Linked DNA regions of Homo sapiens: region 2 is linked to region 1. Evidence: promoter capture Hi-C in human tissues and cell types (Jung and others, 2019). All regions are on one chromosome and are shown on one strand. Each heading gives the region's core, a stretch centred on a gene start or on the middle of the fragment in contact. The rest is flanking DNA. Distances are from core to core; before and after follow the strand shown. Region 1 holds the start of SP140L (SP140 nuclear body protein like). Region 2 overlaps SP140L (SP140 nuclear body protein like).

Evidence for each region. Contacts are between HindIII fragments. The study calls those that stand out against the background at their distance.
Region 2: a contact is called between a fragment that was not itself captured here and the fragment with the promoter of SP140L in region 1, in 2 of the 25 tissues and cell types used here (lymphoblastoid cells and thymus).

Annotation. Positions count from the first base shown.
Region 1 is chr2:230,325,537-230,329,007 of GRCh38, reverse strand. SP140L (SP140 nuclear body protein like) reads right to left here and starts at 1,815. Exons shown (of 19, transcript NM_138402.6): 1 at 1,707-1,815; 2 at 177-251. The coding sequence starts at 1,738. RefSeq lists an enhancer at 1,672-2,141. The HindIII fragment of the contact is 8,396 bases long and covers 1-3,471 here.
Region 2 is chr2:230,393,300-230,396,770 of GRCh38, reverse strand. It overlaps SP140L (SP140 nuclear body protein like), which reads right to left. Exons shown (of 19, transcript NM_138402.6): 13 at 3,310-3,357; 14 at 1-14. It overlaps LOC105373925 (a long non-coding RNA gene), which reads left to right. Exons shown (of 4, transcript XR_001739922.2): 4 at 2,466-2,622. Among named protein-coding and RNA genes, the nearest start is that of SP100, 21 kb to the left of the region's middle. The HindIII fragment of the contact is 6,208 bases long and covers 1-3,471 here.

The DNA of each region.
Region 1 (3,471 bases), core at 566-3,065:
TGAACTCTCCCATATCATGAAAAAAAGACAAACACCTCAACTGAATCACATTGGCAAAAAATAAACAAAAAAATTATGGAAGAGGAAATTTCAGTGGCCAAGAAACATGAAAAGCTGTTCAGCTTTCCACATTATCAGGAAAATACAAATTAAAACAAATTGTAATTCTTCATCACCTTTGCAGACTTTGGCTGTGTGCAGGAAGATGGTTCATCTCATTTGCTACTTGTGAAACACCTCCGTTCAGCCCCCTAAAAAGACAATTTGGCAGGATCTATAAACAAGTAAATAACAGCACCCTTTGCTTCAACAATTCCACTTTTTAAGGTTTAGGCACAAGAGAAATACTTGCATATGTGCAAAAAAAAGAGAAATATATAATCATTATTATAGCTTATTGATAAACGTGAACAATTTAAAACAATCTAAATGTCCTTCAATTGGAGAATGGTTAAAAAATTATGCTATGTAAATTCTATGGAATAGTATATGTAAAAAGAGTGAGGTAGATCTATATGCATTAAGGTGAAAAGATCTCTAAGATTTCCACCATTAAAATGAGTAGAAATGCAAAATGCAGAATAGCACGCACAATGTAATTCCATTTATTACAAAACGAGAACACAAATTATATGTTTACAAAAACATACTTCATACACGTAAATGCATCGAAAAATATGAGAAAAGTTATGCCGAAGACTCTTCACAAGACTGTGAAAGGAAGCTACAAGGCGAAGTGAGTGGTGAAGAAGACTTTTTCGTTTATACACTTCTCCACTGTTTGAAATTTTATGAGTAAGAATGTAATGTATTTCTTTTGTATTAAAAAATTTAAAAGATTAAAATCGCTTGAACCCAGGAGACAGAGGTTGCAGTGAGCCGGGATTGTGCCACTGCACTCCAGCCTGGTTGACAGAGTGAGACCCTGTCTCAAAAAAATGAAATAAAATAAAAAGATTACGTAATGTTATTTATAAACTCGTTACTAGAGAAAAGATAGGATTTCCATCTCTTTTCTGGTCAGAGGCATCCCCCATCTTGGGACAGGAAATTGAAGTAAAAATAAAAATATTTAGCTTTCTGCCATCCTGGGCCTTTTTCTTCTTTTTCCTTCTTTGGATCAAGGTCAATTGTATCAGAACTCACACCCTGAGTCAGTCAAGGAAATAGCCCCAAAGCTGACTGAGGCCCCTTGCCAAGACAGGTGAAACCACAGTTTCCAATGTTTAAAAGTAAGCCAGCTGTTTACCCTGGAGTGTCTATTTCCAAACTACCTTCTTTGACATGACATATGTGAAGGTAGAGAGGGCAGAGGGATGTGAAAGGGTTGGGAGATCATGAGGAAATGTTTGTTGAAACACAAACATATAATTTGTGTTCCTCATTCTCATGAGGAAATAATAACTCTCAGTCACAAATGACTGAAACGACTGTTCAGAGTGTCCCCGCCAGCTGAGCAGTAGTTTCAAAACAAGAAAAGTCATCTGTGTTATGGCAAGCTGGACTCACACAAACAGCTGTCCTGCTGCAGTTGTAAAAATCTGATTTCCTTATTACATTCTCTTTTATTCCATTATATTACACTACCTACCTATGTTCTTGCAAAGCAGGACTAAACTGAAGCTTTAGACAGAAACTGAACTACAGGCATGAAAGCTCCAATACTGCCAGAGATAAAGGTGAAAGGAAGAGAGATAAAGACTCACCTGGTGCTCAGGTCGCTGCCCCCACCTGCCATCGTCCCACCCTAGGCCCTGCCTGGGTGTCAGAGCCTGGCCTATGAGCTCCCCAGTCGGCCCAGCCTGCGTGCAGTGTGGCTGCCCTGACCCGGAGCAGGAAGTCGGCCGACAGACTGACTCACCCTCACAGATTTCTGCCCAAATGGGGAAAAGAAAAGTGAAAGTATTTATTTAACTTCCTGCTGGGATACAGACACCGTGTTTCTCCTCCTTTTTCACTCCAAGGGGTTCTCAGCTTTTCTGAAATGTGGCAGACGGTTGGAGGAGAGGCCTGACAAGCAGCAAGACCTGCAGGACCAGGGAAAGGAGGGCCCAGAGGACGAGCAGGGCTGGCTTCCGGGAGTCCACTTGCTTGTGCAATGGACAGCAAAAAAAAAAAAAATGTCCTTGAACCAAAATAGTCCTTAGCTGCTCTGCCCTCTTAAGAGGGGGCATAGTTTACATGGGAGTTGGGGGGAAAACTCCATGTTTGCCCCTTCCCCTTGCTGAAATGGCTGGGGGTGAGAGTTGGAGGGTTGGAGGGAAAGCCAGAAACTTCAAATCTTCTCTCAGGCCCATGGGAGAGCATGGACTGGACTAAGGTAGGTCCTGACATGGGGACCCAGGGCTGGAGAGAACCAAAATGCTCAGCATTATAACCTGGGGAGAGTGTTCTTAGCCTTCCTGGAAATCAGCCAGAAGTAAGAGAGAACTCTCCACACCCCTGGGACCAGAGGCTGGAGCCAGCATGGTAAGAAAGGCAAACATTTTAAGGGGCAAGGGTTTAAGGAATCTTGACTATGGGGCCACCTTGGAACAGCCAGGGATGAAGAGAGCTTCGGAGAAGTCACTGGAATCTTGAGAGAACAAAAGCTTCTCATTGGAGGAGGATGGAGGTTGGAACCCAGATGATCTAGACATGGAAGGGCAGGGTGGCTCCCGCGGGAGGTTCTATCTCTTCCCAGATTTTCCATTTAGATTCTGATTCAACATTCCTCAGAGAACAAGAAGCGACCGAGAAGACTCGCTTTACATCAGTATAAAGTCATAGGTAAAGAAATAGAAGCAAAGGGCGCATGAGAATGGGGCCACAGGACACAACCAGGGACCAGAACTCCAGGCTGGACCATGGGGCAGAGACAGGGAGGCAGCTGGGAGCCTGGGGGCGCTGGAATCCAGGGCCCAAGGTGAGCAGAGGGTGGAAGCTGGTGAGGATTCAGGGGCCAGAGGGGATGGTGCTCCAGAGCCATGTTTTCCAAATTACATTCTGCTGAATCCAACTTTTTCCAGCCCCCACCCCCAGCCATCTCAGCAAGGGGAAGGGGCAAACATGGAGTCCTCCCCCAACTCCCATGTAAACTATGCCCCATCTTAGAGGGCAGAGCAGCTAAGGACAATTTTGGTTCAAGGACTTTTTTTTTTTTTGCTGTTTATTGCACAATAGTTGGAAGCTGTGAATGCTTGTTCAGGTACATTTGAAAATACGAGGGTGGGGGGTTTCTACCCTGATTCTACTGGTGCCCTGCTTTCCCCAAAATGAGTTAATAAGCAGGTGCCAAGACACTGGTGAGGACAGCTTTTCCAGTGGGCGAGGTCACTGTTTCTATCAGGTACTGCACACCTGTAGGTCTCTCTCTCTCTTTCTCTTGCTCGCTCCCCCATGACTCCCCAGTTTTATGGAGGCACAGTGGCTGGTAAGCTGAGCATCTGTTGGGCACAGTTGTCCTCTGATCCCAGTCTCCATGGAGCACAG
Region 2 (3,471 bases), core at 467-2,966, 68 kb before region 1:
GACTTCAGTATTCTCTGTTGAAAAAACAGAAAGATTGATTTATGATATTGAATGCATTGTTTCCATCTATCACTTACTTAAATTTAAATAGTCATCTTTGAAGGGATTCAGGAACCAGTTGTAAAAAAATAATTGGGAGGAGATGAAGGCCAGTAGGCTGGGGTGGCTCCAGTGCTTTAATTTCCTATGTAAGCAAACTGAAACCTGATGTAAACAGTAAAATGAAACTAGAGAATTTACCAACTGGAATCCGTCATCTACCTCTAATTAGCATCTTTCCATGATAATCCATTAAATATAATTTCTCTGTCTTACTCCTGTGTTGGCCTCACCATCTGGGCTGCTACAGCATAGCTCTCTGAACCTCTTCTTGTTCTGAGTGCTGCCCAATTCATGAATTGCTCTTTGCTCCAATAAATGCTATTAAATTTATTTTGTCTAAAGTTTTATTTTTTTAAACAGTCTTCCCTTTACCTCATATCTGATTTTTTGGACCTATATATCTACTGAGGGAAGAAAAAGTGCCCAAGTACTACTGTTCAGCCCAATGCAAGTCCCATTCCCTGCAGGGAGTCTGGACCTAGTTTGCCCAGGCCAAGTCAGAGAAGCTCTACTTGTCCTCTTACTCCAAGGGGCCCTCAGGCATATTTCCTAAACTTGGCCTTTGTGTCATCCCACCCAGAGGAGTTGCAATAATAATCAGGCTGAGAATTTATCCCCCACAGCCTACAGGGACCACAGGGCCCAGAGTCCTGGAGGCCATGAAAGTGTCCCAGAGAAGAGCACTGCTTTCTGCAGCTCCCCTAGGGACACAGCCCTGGTGATAAAATGACTCCAAGGTCCTCTGTGCTGCAGCTCTTCTTCCTGAGAGTCTCCTGCTCTCCCTTCTATCCAAATCACAAGATGTCAGGTTGACTGTCTTTTAAGAGGTAACCCACTAGATTTATTTAGATTGCTTTTGGATATCCATTGCAGGAGTTGGCACCTTTCCCTTCTGGGATACAGGCAGCCTCAGCTTTTGTCTGTAGCCCAGGGCACAGGGCTATAAACAAGTGTGATCTAAAGCACAAGCACCTGAGAGGTGACCTTGTCACTGAGTGCGTCTCTGACTAGCCTAAATCTCCTACTCCACCCATTTGTAATTCATCCATGTTTACAATAAAATTGAAACAATTTTTTTTTCTTTTTTTTGAGACAGGGTTTCACTCTGTCACCCAGGCTAGAATGCCATGATAAAATCACAGCTCACTATAGCCTCGACCTCCCAGGCTTGAGTGATCCTCCCACCTCAGCCTCCTGAGTAGGTGGGACTACAGGTATGCACCACAATGCCTGGGTATTTTTCTATTTTTTTTTGGTAGAGATGATATCTCACGATGTGTCCAGGTTGGTCTCAAATTCCTGAGCTCAAGTCATCCTCCCATCTCAGCCTCTCAAAATGCTGGCATTATAGGCTCTAGTCACCATGCCTGGCTTGAAATGATTTTTGAGGTCAATCTTCTGTAATGCCATTGGAATTTAGTATATGCTTGATAAGTATATGTTCAATGGGTGAATAAATGAATATTGTTTCAAGAGTTCAAGACCAGCCTGTCCAACATGGCAAAACCCTGTCTCTACTAAAAATACAAATAATTAGCCAGGTGTGGTGACAGGCACCTGTAATCCCAGCCACTTGGGAGGCTGAGGCAGGAGAATTGCTTGAACCTGCGAGGCTGAGATTGCTCCACCGCACTCCAGTCTGAATGACAAGAGTGAAACTCCGTCTCAAAAAAAAAAATTACTGGAGTCTCTTAAGCAAGCATTAGCACACAACGATTATTCTGGGTGAGTGTATCAGATTGTTTTACAACACCGCAGCTACCACCAAAAGGTTTATGTGGCCCTTGTCATGAGCCTGAGCAGAGACATTATCATGTGGCACTGATAGTGACACTGAAGTTTCCAGAAGCCAAGTGGCTCTGCAAGGAAGAGAAGCTCTGAGAGGCACAGAGGACCCATGGAGTTCATAATGGATCCTGGATCTGCCACTCGGGGGACCTCTGTTCTCCCCATGAGGAGACATAACATATAGAGGCAACTGTAGCTTGTTGCTGCTAAGTGTTGCACCCCTGAATAGAGGGAGAGTCGGTTGGTTGGAAATTGCCAGCTCATTTGGGTCACCCAGGCTGAGTTACTCTTGGCACCTGGGGAAAGGTAGAGTTGCTGGTCTTTAGTGTACTCACTGAATAGGTGACATCATAGTTTCCCTTCGGGAAACCCAGTGGATGAAATGTCTCAGTGGCTGAGAATTCAAATCAGCCAGTATATCAGATAATGTAAAGGCCTGGATCTCAGGTTCCCAGTGGAATATGAAGCTTAGTGGCTAGCTATGTGTGAGCTGTTTTAGAAGTCTGTGAATGTCTTGAATGCATATTTCTACCTGAAGTGCATAAGGATGACATTTTTCTCTTTCCCCTCCTCAGGTTCTCATTCACACCCAGTCTTCGAAAAACCATCACCTTGTCCTGAATCTACACTGCACTTAACCTATTTGTTTGTTGCGTTCTTAAGTGAAGGAAAAATCACTTTCACAGATAAAAAGCAGGTCTGCACAGTCCCTCTGGTAGAACCAAAGAGGTGGCATCAACATAAAAGATTTTCCTGGTCAGCTCCTCCTGTAAAATACGTTTGCCTCTGGAGATCTTCCTCCCCAATGGCACCATCTTGACAAAGGTAAATAATTTCCCATTGAGAAAGAATTCTGTGTATCTGTGTGTACATTTTTTTGGAAGGTGAAAGAGGATGTGAAAGATCAGAAAAGAAATATTATTTTTATTACCTATTTCATGAAATGATATATGGTTTCATACATGTCTCAAGTGACTGTGAGGAGACGTTTGCTCTATCAATTTCACAAAAGTTAGAAAATAATAACATCAATGAAAAAAATCTGATTTTGAGTTGGAGATGATACTCTCACCTTATTATGAAATATTTTTATGTATTCCATGACCGTGTTGGATTTTCCAACTTTGACACTCTTACAACATCTGTATCTATTGCTGAAACACATTCAGGAGGTTTGTTTTGAGGGCTCCTCAGCATCTCCATCTGATACGGTTTAATCCAAAGAGGACCTAGCTTTATATACACAAAGTATTCAAAGTAGTAACTCTGAAAGTGTATATTAAAAAAATTTATATGTGGGAAGTGGAGAAGGTGAAAGCTTAATTATAGTTACCCAATTGGAGACTCCATAAAATAAGATGTTGTACATGTTAAATCTGTTGTGTGACAAGAATCTGTAGAAAATTATGTAATAATCACCTTTTTGTTCCTGTAATATATTCTTGGAGGATTAGGTAGAGATCCTTCCTGAAAGATAAAAAGACCAAGGTACATAGTCAGCCTGCGTTTCTGTTTTGTGAGTCTGGCATTTCCAACCTCTTCCCAAATACTTCTACCTGAGTGTTCCAATGCCAGCTCAAA